Regions from separate parts of the Homo sapiens genome. Here all the other regions are linked to region 1. The links are contacts of gene promoters, found by promoter capture Hi-C in blood cells and fetal thymus (Javierre and others, 2016). All regions are on one chromosome and are shown on one strand. Each heading gives the region's core, a stretch centred on a gene start or on the middle of the fragment in contact. The rest is flanking DNA. Distances are from core to core; before and after follow the strand shown.

What was found. The method cuts DNA at HindIII sites, captures the fragments that hold promoters and counts their contacts. A CHiCAGO score of 5 or more calls a contact.
Region 2: a contact is called between the fragment with the promoter of NECTIN1-AS1 here and a fragment that was not itself captured in region 1, in 6 of 17 cell types (megakaryocytes, M0 macrophages, M1 macrophages and 3 more). The highest score is 10.5, in megakaryocytes.
Region 3: a contact is called between the fragment with the promoter of NECTIN1 here and a fragment that was not itself captured in region 1, in 2 of 17 cell types (endothelial precursors and M0 macrophages). The highest score is 7.7, in endothelial precursors.

What each region holds. Positions count from the first base shown.
Region 1 is chr11:120,105,093-120,109,392 of GRCh38, reverse strand. No RefSeq gene overlaps it. Among named protein-coding and RNA genes, the nearest start is that of TRIM29, 31 kb to the left of the region's middle. RefSeq lists an enhancer at 897-946. The HindIII fragment of the contact is 2,835 bases long and covers 896-3,730 here.
Region 2 is chr11:119,708,011-119,712,310 of GRCh38, reverse strand. It overlaps NECTIN1-AS1 (NECTIN1 antisense RNA 1), which reads right to left and starts at 2,391. Exons shown (of 3, transcript NR_183634.1): 1 at 2,281-2,391. All of the region lies in intron 1 of NECTIN1 (nectin cell adhesion molecule 1), which reads left to right. The HindIII fragment of the contact is 5,414 bases long and covers 1-4,026 here.
Region 3 is chr11:119,726,970-119,731,269 of GRCh38, reverse strand. It overlaps NECTIN1 (nectin cell adhesion molecule 1), which reads left to right and starts at 2,070. Exons shown (of 6, transcript NM_002855.5): 1 at 2,070-2,795. The coding sequence starts at 2,717. It overlaps NECTIN1-DT (NECTIN1 divergent transcript), which reads right to left and starts at 1,687. Exons shown (of 4, transcript NR_120587.1): 1 at 1,464-1,687. RefSeq lists enhancers at 1,024-1,884, 1,885-2,746, 3,546-4,300 and silencers at 1,685-2,094, 2,155-2,474. The HindIII fragment of the contact is 12,809 bases long and covers 1-4,300 here.

The DNA.
Region 1 (4,300 bases), core at 1,064-3,563:
TAGTTGGGAGCCCTGAGTCTCATCCAGGCTCTGTTGCTTGGCTGTGTGATCTGGGCTAATTGCTTGCCCTTTCTGGGTCTGACCTTCTCCATCTACAAAATGAGGTGTATTCATTGGATCATTTCTGGGGTTCTTTCCCAGCTCCAACAGCCTGTGAGGTGGAGACCACAGCAAAAGGAGGGTTGGAAGGGACAGGAACATTGAGCTTGGTGTCAGGTTGGGAATCCACCATCAGACCTGGGCTGATAGGCAGGCAGGTTGGACTCCCAAATCTCCAAGGCTCCCTGTACCCAGCCCCGTGCCTCTCCTTTCCTTTAGACCCTGTCAGGGGCATGGGTCCCCATCTGAGAAGCCTTCTCTGTCCAGGACGGGGGAAGGCTGGAGACGCAGGAGCTTCTGAGCTCTGCTCTGGGCCTCAGGACCTGCTGGAATGTGGACTCCGTGATAGCAGGGGTTATTCCATCATGTTGTCCTAGAACAGTGCCTGGCACGTGGGCGGGCCTTGGAGGCTAAGAAGCAGTTAACTGGGAAGAGGAAGTGGGAGAGGAAGGTGAAAAAATCAAAAGGGGAGCTGGAAGGCATCCAATAATGGGTGCCTGGTACATTTCATTGTGTGGAGAGCTGAGGCATAGGCTTCTGAGGGCACTGTGTGGAGCTGGAGCCACACTGTCAGGGCCAGAATCCTGGCTGCACTGCCCATCAGCTGTAAGACCAGGGCCAAGCTGCCCACTCTGTCTGAGCTTCAGTGGGGATAACATCTTAAAGGACTGCTGTGAGCAACAAAAAACTGCAAAGAACCTGGTTTAGCAAGGGCCCAACAGTTGAGAGATTATACTATTATTATTGTGGAATTAACAACAAAGACAATGACGACATTTCAACCTGGGATGAAGCTTGATTTCCCCTCTTTTTGGCCTTCTGCACTTGGTGGAGAGTCACAGGGTGGAAGCTGCTGGGCCCAGCCCTAGGACCCGCACCAGGGCTCCTGCAGTTCTGAGGCACGGCCAGCAGGTGACAGCATTTCACTGCAGTGAGTGGGCGCCAAACTCCTGCCCCAGCCCGGGCCGTCAGGACTGGGTCCCAGGGCCCTTCTACAAGGTGAGCCTCTCTCTCTCTCCTCCTTCCCCCACTTCTGTATTAGCTGAGTAGGCCCTTCTGTCCTAGCCTGTAGAATATATGACCCCAGGACAGCAGTCCCCTGGTCTGAGCAGCAGATAGGGGCTTACTGCTCACCCCACCAGACCTTGCCTAACCTGGCATGGAATTCTGCAGAAGGGGCAGGCTTCCCTTATGTGGGTGCCACCTTTGGGTTCCCTCTGCAGGTAGCTGGCCTGAGGAGGGGGCTGGGTGGGCACAGAAGGCTCAGTTTTGCAGCCCCCAAAGAGGGCTTGCATGAGTCGGACAGGGCTCTACCCAAGGCAGCTCTTGGTGAAGAGTGAGACAGAAAGCCAGAGTCCTCAAAGTCCAAGGGGGAGGGGACACTGAGGGGCTGCGAACTGCCAAGCTGCTTGACTCTTGTCCCCCTTCCGTGTCCCGGCTACGACATGGGGACCTTTGTCCCTGCCTCCTGATGGACCATGGAGAGAGGTCAGAAGGGTAACAGGTGGGACCCCAGGAATGCCTGTCCAGAGGGGCGGGGGCTGGATGGCTGAGGCAGGGCCATCTCATATCCCACCTCCCTTTCCCACCAAACCCTCAAATCACCTCCCAAGAGTGACCCAGACAGTTTTATCTTTCTGAGTATTGACTATTAAGGTTGAAAATGATCTGTTGTTCAGCCACAGAAACAAGGAAGATAAACACTAATTGCTTGGTGAATGTGCCAACTCCTGGCTCCTAATTCATCACCTTGCCAAGGCAGAGGCTAAGAAGAGGCAAAGGAGTGGGGAGGGGGTGAGGAAACTTGGGAACCAACAGACTCTCTTGCAAGATGTGGCAGTGGATGGGTGACCTCAACCCAGCGGATGAGGATGGTGCCTGGGATCCCTGAAGCTCCCCAGGAAGGACAGGGAGCCAGGTGAGGGAGGGAGGAGAGGTCTTTGGCCGGGCTTATCGTTATCAATACATTCATCCCAAGTGGACATATAACGTGTTTCCTCGTTGGCCTTGAGGTTGGCTCTGGTTAGCAAATTCTGCATTTTTCTGAGGTTGGTCCCATTATCATGTTAAGATCCTGAACTGGCTGAATTGAGGGGCTGCAAACCCTGTTACGGATTGGTAACTTGCAGGATTCAGATCTGGCTGTGGAAGGTGGAGCCCTGAGAGCTTGTCTGAGAAGGAGGCGGCATATTCTTTGAGGGTGAGGTGTGGGTCTTTGATGGTTCAGGTGTGGACCTGCCTGGAGTGGGGACTGCACTAGGTGACCTGAGCCCAAGACTGGGGGCATTGTACAGGCCTAGGGGGGAGAGAGGTGCACAGATACCTGATGAGGAGCAGGAATGGAGGCGTGGCTCGGGGGAGGCCTGCATTCATTCAGATTTTTGTGTTGGACCAAGATCTAAGCACAAGATATAGGAGACACAAGCTGCCTCTCTGCATGAATTCACAAGACTGGGCCTGTGAGCTGATCCAGAAGGTGATCAGAGCGTGCAGGGCCCAAAACGGTGATGAGGAGGCATGTCCCCTGAGGAGGGGACAGCTGTGCTGAGAGTGAGTTGAGAAGATCTGGGGGGACCTGAGTGAGTTCTGCATGTGTGAGAAAGGCAGGGCAGGATCATGCCGGGCTACATAGGGGCTGAGCTTTACCGTAAACACAGTGACCACCTCCATGGGAGGGTGAGTAATCAGATCAGTGCTCTAAGAAGAGGACTCAGGAATGAACCGAGGTGAAGCAAGAGTGGAGGCCCAGGTGCGCTATACTGGTGGCTTGAGACATCATTGATGGGACCGACTGTGGCAGGTGGAGACGCTGGTGGCATTGCAGGTGCAGGAGCAAGCAAAGACACAAGCAGGATGTGCAGAGGATGCAGGGTTTAGGAAACAGTTGAGAGCTAAGGGCCAGTGAGTGGAGGAGGGGAGTTGGAGAGTAGGTCCCTGTTGCAGGAGCACTAATGCCAGAGAGGGAGACTGCAGCACAGCTGCCATGGGCTGAGGGGGGCGGAACTGCCATGAGGTGGGTGTGGAAGCAGGGAACACTCTTGGGGGATGATACAGTCCCAGAGATCATCCTCTGTCTGTGCCTCTCTGAGAGAGGCAATGTGCCACTCTGTACCTGACCTGACTTGGCTGGGTCAATAGAAGAAGCTACTTACGCTTCCTTACCCTCAGTTTTCTCATCTGCCAAATAGGGCTAATCATAGTGACCGTATGGGTTTGTAAGAGGATCAAATGAAAGGAGGCAAGTAAGTGTTTCACAGTGCCTGGTGCATCATCACTTGATAAATAGGTGCCTGATGCATGGTGGAGAGCAGGACACAGGGTCCTTTCCCTGCCTCAGGCACTTCTTCCCTGACTGCTGCTTTTGTTGCTGGTGGTGATGGCAGAATCTAATCCCTGGCATTTCAGGGAGGGCCTGCTTAGCTCCTCGAGGCCACCTGGCTCTGGTGTCTGGGTCCCTCCTTCCCTGGTGGCCATGCAGTCATGGGTCCTCTGGGCTGCATCTGGCAGGAAAGCCAGACTGCAGGAGGAGTGGAGGCTAATTCTTCTCCTCCCAGTGGCAGACCAGCCGCTACATGCATGGGTGGCCGGGGTAATTAATTTACACATTTTATCCTGCTTAAACTAATAAGCTTCTCTAGCTTCCTCCACTGAGCCCGAGCCTTCGAGCTGAGCCTGCCAGAAACGTTATCCTGCCCCCCAGGAAGTCTGATGGGGCTTACAGTTGTCCTGTGGGCTCGGGCCAAGGCTCCCAGGCCCTGTGTCCACACTTCCGAGGCTGCTTATTTTGGCCGCTCCTAGCCTGCTGGTCCAGGTATGCCACAGAGGCATCTTAAGATGCCAGTCAACACTGCACACCCTGATGGAAAAGCAGGACTTGGGAGCCCATCCTTCCAGCCCCCTGCCCCACAGCCTCCCGCTCCTGAAGTAGCAGGGTCTGGCTCCAGGACGCCTGGGAACACAAAGTCCTCCTCCATGTAGTGAAAAAGAAGTCTTTAAGACAGGTTGTGGAGTGAAGATAGTGACGTGGGAATAATGTGTGACGTAGCCGCTATTTTCTTGAGAAAGGAAGAAACGCACATCCACATTTGCTTGCATGAGGATAAAGCCTCCTGGATGGGTGTACAAGGAACTGGCTACTCCTAGGGAGGAGCTGGAGAGCTGCAAGGTAGGGCGGGAGGGAGACTTTCCCCGTGGACCCCTT
Region 2 (4,300 bases), core at 1,142-3,641, 400 kb after region 1:
CTTGATTCTGAAACCTGGAGGCTGAGAAGGAGTGGGCTGGGACGTGACCAGGACAGCCAAGGGAGACCCAGCCACGAGCATGCCTGGAAGAAAACCAGCGCCTCCGCAGCCTGTGGACTGGGACTTGAAAAGAACAACCCCCAAATCTGTTCTCTCTGATTTCAGCCTGACCTGTGCGCAGTCCAAGCCCAACTTGTCCAGAGCCACCCTTGTCCTCTTCTTCCCAAGACACAGCCCTCCCTGAGCTCTTCCCATTTCTGTGATGAAAGCCCAGTTCTGCTGTGCACCGGAGCCCTGGCTCCCTCCTTCACCCCTGCCTCTGATTTGCTGTGAGTTCTTATCCCATTTCTGCAGGACCCCTCCCCAATCCTAGCACCACCACACCCATCCAGCCATTCCTGTGCAGGGTGACAATAAAAAGTGTCCTCAGACATTGCCGAATATTCCCTGGAGGACAAGAGCACCCCAGTTGAGAAAACACTGGTCTAGGCCTTCACTGCAACCAGCCTCTTTTTCCAAAACTGCTTTTCCACTGACTGCTCTACACTCCCACAACTTTACACGGACCTATTTTAGGTTCCAGTCAAAATAAACTGCTCCTGGCTTCTCCAGTGCACTCCTCGGCCTTGGCTCCTGATGATGGCTGAGCCCCAACACACCCACCTGTGAAATGCGAGGCTCCCAGACACCAGCCCCCCTTCCCCTTCTGTGTTGTTTAGTATTTACTTTCTCTCCTCCCCTCACCCAGCACCTGAGCTCTTTGAAGGATAGGACCCAGCCTTAAAATCTCTGCAGGCCCTAGCTCAGCACCTTGCACACAGTAGGTGTCCCATAAATGTACAGTAAACCGATGGGAGCTGGCTGGCTTCACAACCCTGATAAGCTGTGAGGTTTCCTTCTCCATGCCTTTTTTTTTTTTTTGAAACAGAGTCTCACTCTGTTGCCCAGGCTGGAGTGCGGTGGCACGATCTCAGCTCACTGCAATCTCTGCCTCCTGGGTTCAAATGATTCTCCTGCCTCAGCCTCCCAAGTAGCTGGGATTACAGGCACCCACCACCACGCCTGGCTAATTTTTGTATTTTTAATAGAGATAGGGTTTCACCATGTTAGTCAGGCTGGTCTCGAACTCCTGACCTCAGGTAATCCACCTGCCTTGGCCTCCCAAAGTGCTGGGATTACAGGCATGAGCCACCGTGCCCAGCCAGCCTCCCGTGCCCCTTTCTTTCTGTTTTTGGTTTTTTTTTTTTTTTGGCAACCCTATTTAACCCCCATGCCAAGAAAGGAAAACTTCTGATGCTTTCCTTTTACTTGACACCTCCCCTCCCATCTCATTTTGTTTGCAGTAAACAAAATCATCTTTTTTCCATTTGCTCAATATTTATCAGCACCAGGAAGGTCTGCGGTTATGTGTGTGTGAAGTTGTGCGTGGATGTGTGGTTTGACAGGCGGGCGCTGTGTGATGGCACGGTTCTTTGTGTGGGGTGTTAGTGTTTGAGTCAGAAATTATACTCTCCACACCAGGACTTGTATGGGGTCTTCTCTCCCATGAACTCCTCTACACTTCAAACTCCTCTCACACTGGGCTTATCCCATAAGCTCTGACCTTTCAGTCCACCATGCCTTTGCTGTTCCTGTCTCCTCTGCCTGGAGGACCCTACTTCACCAGCTGGCAAACTCCTACTCATCCTTCAAAGCCCAGTGAAATTTTACCTCCTGTGGGACACCTCTTGTTTCTCTAATTCTCCTCCCCACATTCATCATTTCTTCCTGTATCATCATGGCACTTTGTGAACAGTCCTACCGTAGCAGTGATCATGTCAGTGAATTTATCCTGTGTCCTTGATATCCTTCACATGCATACACACGCATGCAGGGCTGTGTGTGTGTGTGTGTTTATAGCCCTACTGGCAGGCACTTGGTAGGTTCTTAATACTTGTTTATTAAATAAATGAGAATAAATTGCTTGCTTGGTTTTCCAAAGCATTTTCTTTGTACGGTGTTAGAGGAATGTGTCTGTGCAATGACTCTGCCTGACCTTCCCGCACTGCTCCCGCGTGTTCCTGAGCATGTCGACCTGTGTGCATACCGCAGCGTTCAGCTGCACATGTGTGCTTGGGTGCGCGTGTGTGCGTGCATGTGGCTCTGTTTCAGCGCTTCTGTAAATGGAAAGCTGTGGCTGCCCCTCCCCAAGCTGACATTCCCTCAGCACCACGCCCCCACCTTTGAGGACTGAAGGGGTGACTGGGTGGTGACTTCCCCCAGGCAGCTTTCTCTACCCACCTGATGTCCCCCTCCAAGAACGGTGACCCAGGGTTTCCCGTCCATCCTGGGGGCTGAGCTCTCTGCGGCCTCGTCACATCACACTCCCTTCCCTATCCATCTCTGCCCTGTTTAATTGGAATTTGGCTAGTGGAGACCATCTGTTCTATTCCGGCCTGTTTCCATGACAACCAAGTGGCTTGAGACTGAGGTTTGTGGTGAGAGAAGTGGCCTGGGGGATGCTGGGAAAAACCAGCTAGGTCCTCCCCCTCAAACCCGCTCCGCCTCGTCCTGCCCTCTCTCCACAAACCCGGAGTTAAAATAAAGCTGTTCCCTGCCTGAGAGTTGGGGAGTCCCCGAGCATCACTCTCCTCTCCCAGCCCCCAGCCCCCAGCCCCAGTCTTTCCCAGGCTCCTTTCAGGCTTCCCACACGGGGCTCCCCTCCCTCCCTGCTTCCATTCAAGAGCACCTTCTGCCCTTACAGACTAGGGAGCTAGCCCTTCCCTTCCCCAACCCCTGAACCTCCACCCCTGGAAGTGAGTGCTTCCTCACAGCCTGGTTACAGACGCTCAGGGCCCCACAGAAAGGACTCTTTAGAGGGTAGTCTCGGCTTCCTCTGCGCCCCTGCCCCTGCAGGCTCTCCCCCGGCCCCAGGTAGCAGAGTGGCCCAGGCAAGTGCGTGGCAGACAGAGGCGCCCTGGGCCCGGATGTGGAGCTGGTGATCCCAGATTCTCAGGGGCTGAGACAGGCCCTGGTACACTGGGGATATGAGTGAGGGGGTCTCTTATTTCTGAACAGACAGTTCTGTTTTCACGGTGTTATTTTCTGCCCTAATTTCCCCATCTATGGCAAAGCCTCTTCGTGCCTGTTCTATTACCAAGGGACCCGCCTGTCTTCAAAAATAGGTGGTGTGGCTTGTCAGGTGACCGTCTGTCGCTCTGGTCCCAGGCATCTCATGCAGGATATGTGCGATATGTTGGCTATGTGGGCGGGCGTGGGGGGTAGAGTGTCTCAGGATCTCTCCGGTGCCCCCTCCCCCAGCAAAATCAGTCCTGGGCAGAATCAGTCCTGGGCAGTCCTGAGGAGGGAAGCTGAGTCTTGGACTTCAGAAGACCGGTGCTCTTAGCAGCTGCGCTGAGCCGTGGGACCCCAGGGCCCCCACGCTTGGGGGTGCTGCAGGCTTGCAGAGGTCTTCTGGTAGCCTGCTTGTCTCCAGCCTAGCCCTGCCATCATCCATCCTTCTTCATGTGCCTCTTTTCTTCTTTTGTCTTTGTTGAGATATAATTCGCAAACCACAAAATTCGCCCTCCTGAAGTATACGAGTCAGTGGCTTTAGTATATTCACAATAGGCCGTCACCACTGCCTAATCCACAGCATTTTCATCACCTCGGAAAGAACCTCGGTATTCATTAGCAGTCACTCCCCATTTTCCCTCCCCCGGCCCCTGACAACCACTCATCTACTTTCTGTGTCTATGGATCTGCCTATCCTGGACATTTCGTATAAATGGAATCATACAGTATGTGGCCTTTTGTGACTGACATCTTCTACTTAGCATTCCATGTGCCTCTTTCCAAAGCACAGATGTGACCATGTCACCACTTTGCTTAAAAGGCGTCAGTGGCTCCCAGTTGCCTACAAGGTGAAGTTCAGACCCTCATCTAATACAAAGCCCTTTTACAACTGGCTCCTACCTTGCTTTCCATTCACCCTGTATTCCCCTCTCCTCTGCCCCACATATCCAGTGCTTTCGCCACATCCAAGCTTTTAAAGACACTCTTTCCTCTTTTCCTCTTCCCCTCCTGTTCCCTTCCCTCTCTCTGTCTGTCTCTGTCTCTGTCTCTATCTCTGTCTGTCTCAAGGACTCCTGCTTATCCTGCAGGACCCAGCTAAAAAATCTCACATCTTCTGTGGCGCCTCCGTCACCTTCAGACAGAATCACTCCCCCTTCTGAGCTCCCATTGCTTTGGGTTTGTATTTTTCAGAAACAAACAAAAACTGCGTTTATCACTCAGTCATTATTTGTTTTCATGTCTGGGG
Region 3 (4,300 bases), core at 821-3,320, 380 kb after region 1:
CAGAGCAAGACTCTGTCTCAATGAAATAAAATAAAATAAAATTAAATTAAATTAAAATAAAATAAAATAAAATAAAATAAATAAAATAAAATAAAATAAAATAAAATAAAGATGGAGAGGATGGGAGGGTAAGAGCAGGGAACAAGAAGACATTGGTACATCTGGGATTGCCCCTTCAAACCATGCCTTCAGCTCCTGCAGTGTGCCTGGCACAGAGCTAAAGGCCATCACAATGAATTCAATTCAACCCTGGCCCTTAAAGCACTCAGCAGCCAGATGGGAGATTCCCAGCTGCCACAAACTAAATCTGATAGCGTGTTCCCCAGTTTAAAACCCTCCTAGCAGCTACCGGGCATGATTCACGAATCTGCAGACCTCTCCTTTCCTCAAGTCTTAGGCTCAGGCTAAACCAGTCAACCCTTTGTGGGCCCCCTACTCACCTGACTATTGCTTACCTTCATTCCTTTGCTCGTGCTGACCCTCTACCTTAAATCCAGTCTCTTTTATGTCTCTGCCCTCCAGCACTTACCTTGGTCTGATAGATGACTCACCGAGACCCTGTGTTCGCTTCCCTGAAGCCTTTACACCAACCCCACCCCGGGCTAAACTGGGCACTTTTTCTGTGACCCACCAAACCCACACAATCCCATATTAAATATTTGTTTACGACATCCGTTTCTATGTCTGTCTTCCCCCACCCTTCAACTAGATTGAGTTCCTTCAGGACAATGATGATGTCTCTGTATCCCCAAGCCAGGCACTGTGTTTTGACACAAAGAAAGCCCAGGTTACATTTGTTAAATGTAAAAGACCATACAGTGAGTGGGTGAGTGTTCATGACAATGCCAGATCTGACTACTTCCGCGAGAAACCGAGACACTCCAGGGCCGGATTCCAGACAGTGGGAATATGGCGCTGTCTTTGCCCCTTCTCCAGTGAGGAACCAGAATTTACGTGTTATCAGAAACAGCCACTTCCCCTCTGCTCCTGCCCGCCTAGAGGGCTGGGCAAAGGGTAGAGGGAGCAGTGTCCGGCCAGGGTCTGGGGAGAATTCGGCTCTCCTTAGTGGGAAACTCTGTCTGTCTTCCTCCCCCAGGGGGAGGGGATGGGGATAGGAGGACCAGAGTAAGGGGAAGAGGGAAGGCCCGGAGGGCGCAGTCGCCTTGGCAGAAATCCTACCACACCCGGATGTAGTGGGTGGTGAACGGGATGGGGCGGAGAGTCCCTGCCCTGCCAGGGACACTGACTGGACGATCCACTTTCGCGGGAATCCCACAAATCTCTCAAAACTAAGGTCCTGGAAACTGGAGGAGAGCTCGTTTTCAGGCTATGTTTGGGCAAGGGCGGGGCGCGGGGTGCTTCAATTTTTGGAAAAGGAACCCCCGAAGGGAGCAGGGATTAGAAAAGAAACTCTACCAGAAACCTCAGTGGGCCCGTCTCACCCACTCATGCCCACCACTGACTTCTCTGGCAGCTCCCCGTCGCCCCGCGCACCGCTGCCTCTCCGTGGAACGTCCAAGTGGTGCAGAGGAGAGGGATCTCCGGAGACTGGGTTCTGTTGCGAGCTATGCCACGTTCCGTCCCGGGCGGAACTCTTCTTTGGGCCTTTGTTTCCTCGTCTGTGAAATGGGGCCAGGGTGGGAGCAGAGGGCTTGCAGAAGCCCTGCCAGCTCCCACGCTGCTAGCCGGGATTCTCCATCCCGCCCTCTCCTCCACCGCCGCCCCCGGCCCGGTCCTAACTCCACCCCCACCCGCCGCGCCTCGGCGCCGCCGGCCGCTAGGGGTCACTGCCTGCCTTTGTCAGCGGAGGAGGAGGGCAGCCCGCGCTCCAGCCGGCTCCCCAGCTGGAAGGCGGCCGAGGGGTAGCTCCCGAGCGAGGGTCCTGAGCCGGACCCCGCAGCCCGCGCTCGCGATCCGCCTCTGCTTCGGTCGGGAAGGCGCGTGCGCTCGGGCTCCGACCGGGCCCCGGCGGGCGCGCATCGAGGCCAGGAGGGGGTTAACGCTAACCCCTCCCCTCTGGCTGACATCACGGGCGAGCGGGTGAGAGGCTGGAGCTCGGCGAGTGAGAGAAAGAGAGCGAGAGCAGCGAGCGCGGCTCCACATTGTTGCGGATCGCCGGCACCCGGCAGAGCGGCGGCGGCTGGGACGCGCGGCGCCTCCGACCCGTTCTCCTCGCGCCCGGCCGCGCAGCCAGAGCCACCCGGGCCGCCGACCGCCGAGCCCCGCGCCCGCCGCCTGGGCCCCGAGCCTTCTGCGCCGCCCGGGTGCGTCCCGCCACCCTCGGAGGACGGCCGGCCATGGACGCCTGCAAGTTGGAGCCGAGCGGGAGGGTGTGAGCGGGCCGGGGCCAGGAGCCCGCGCCGCGCAACCGGGCAGCCGGGCGCGCCGGGGGTGGGTCCCTCTCCCCAGCCCCGCTCTGCGTGGAAGAAGAGGGCGGGGACCGGCGCCGGGAGGAGAGCGGAGGAGGCGAAGGGGCATGACTCGTGCAACTTGCGGCGGGCATCTGCCGAGCCTCTGAGCCGGCGGCGGCCCGGGGCCCGGACTGCGGCCGCGCGGATCCCACCCAGCCCACCCCGCCCCGGCCGACGGCTGCAGCTGACCTGGATCCTTCGAGCGCCCGCCGACCGCCAGCGATCTTCCCTCATCTTCCGGGCTGGTTTCTGCTGCGCGAGGAGCGCTGCCCTCGCCGCCCCTCTCGCCGGACCCCCGGCCCCCGATGGCTCGGATGGGGCTTGCGGGCGCCGCTGGACGCTGGTGGGGACTCGCTCTCGGCTTGACCGCATTCTTCCTCCCAGGTAAGAGCGCTCACCTCTGCTGTCCCCACCCCCATCCAATGCCTCCCCGGGGCTGGGAGCCGGATGGCGGGCACGACTGGATTGTGGGGAGTGAAAGGAGCCAGAAAAGTTGGGTCACGGCTTGGGTAAAGGGGGTGGGAGGTGGCACGGCGGAGAAAGAGGTTGAGAAGCCGAACCGCCTGCCCTGCAGGGAAGCAGTCAGATGCACGTCTCTATGTAGCATGAAAGCACTTTCTCCGCTCAGTTCTTTACAAAAAATAATAATATGTAATAGCGTTCTGTTTATTTAATAACCAGCTCTCTGCTCGGGAAGCAGTTTGGAAACACTGCGTGTTACATAAATGCAAAATAATCACCGTAATCACCGTCTTGGGGTGGGAGACAACAGCCCCAGGGGGAGGGCGTCAGTCTCGGAGCTGCGGGTTTGGAGTATGGCGGGGGGGCTTCGTCTCTTTCGGCGGCCCCTTTGCCAGACGGCTCAGGACGCTCGGGCCCCCTCCCGCCCCACACCGCCCCACAGCGGGCGCGGAGAGTCGGCTGCTGCGGCAGAGGCGGCTCCTCGCTCACCTGCGGTTCCTTTCCTGGAGGGTGAGGCCGGGGCAGCCTCCTCCCGGCCTGGCGCGGGACCGGGCTCCCCCTCGGAACTCTGCTCCCAGCTCTGGGGGCTCTCCCTGGAGGAGACACCGCGGGCTTCCTGCCATCCAAGTAGCTGCATGACCCACTTTCCCGAGGGTGCCCCGCGTGTCCTTCCTCGAGGTGCGGGCTGCCGGCAGCCGAGGGGTTAACCTCGCGCCCGACCCCGGGGTGGCCCTGGTGGCCCATTCTGACGGGTGGGGTGGGGACGGAGGCTGGGACCAGCCCAGGCATATTGTGCTGGGGAATGAACTGGAAAATGCGTTTAGGAGGCAAATCCGACCGAGTCCCCTCGCCTGGATTTAACCCTTTGTGTCCCTGGGGAAGCTGCCGAGCTCGCCGGCTGACTGGACACCAAGCGTGGGTCAAGGGGTGTGGGGAGTTCCTCCAGCTCTCTGGGTAGAAACCAGAGACGACCTGCAGCTCTAGCAAGATGGGATTTTGGGGAGGGGGGCGGATCTTGACTGGAGCACGTGGTCCCCGCCTTGGGGTGGCAGAATAGGGGGTCAGTGTACAGAGACCATCTCCTCGTGGGGCAGGAATATTAGATCCCGAGTTCCTGCAATGTGCTTTGCCGCAGAATGGCCAGGCAGTTTGTTATCGAGGGAACAGTCTGGCTGCCTAGTTCCGGGGCTAGGGTGCACTCCTGGAAGGCAGAAGCCTGGCCTCATTCCCTTCTATGCCTCTTCTGCTGCCAGCCAGCTCACTACGAGGGCCCCGCCAATCTCACTAAGTGGTGGATGTCTGGGAAGCAGTTTGTGAAAGCCAGTACTGGGGTGCCTCCACCCGTGAAGCCTGGGGTGCTGCCCTGCTCGATGTGGGGGGTGGGGAAAATCCAGGGCTCACAGGTGTCACTGCCCACCCTGCCCCCA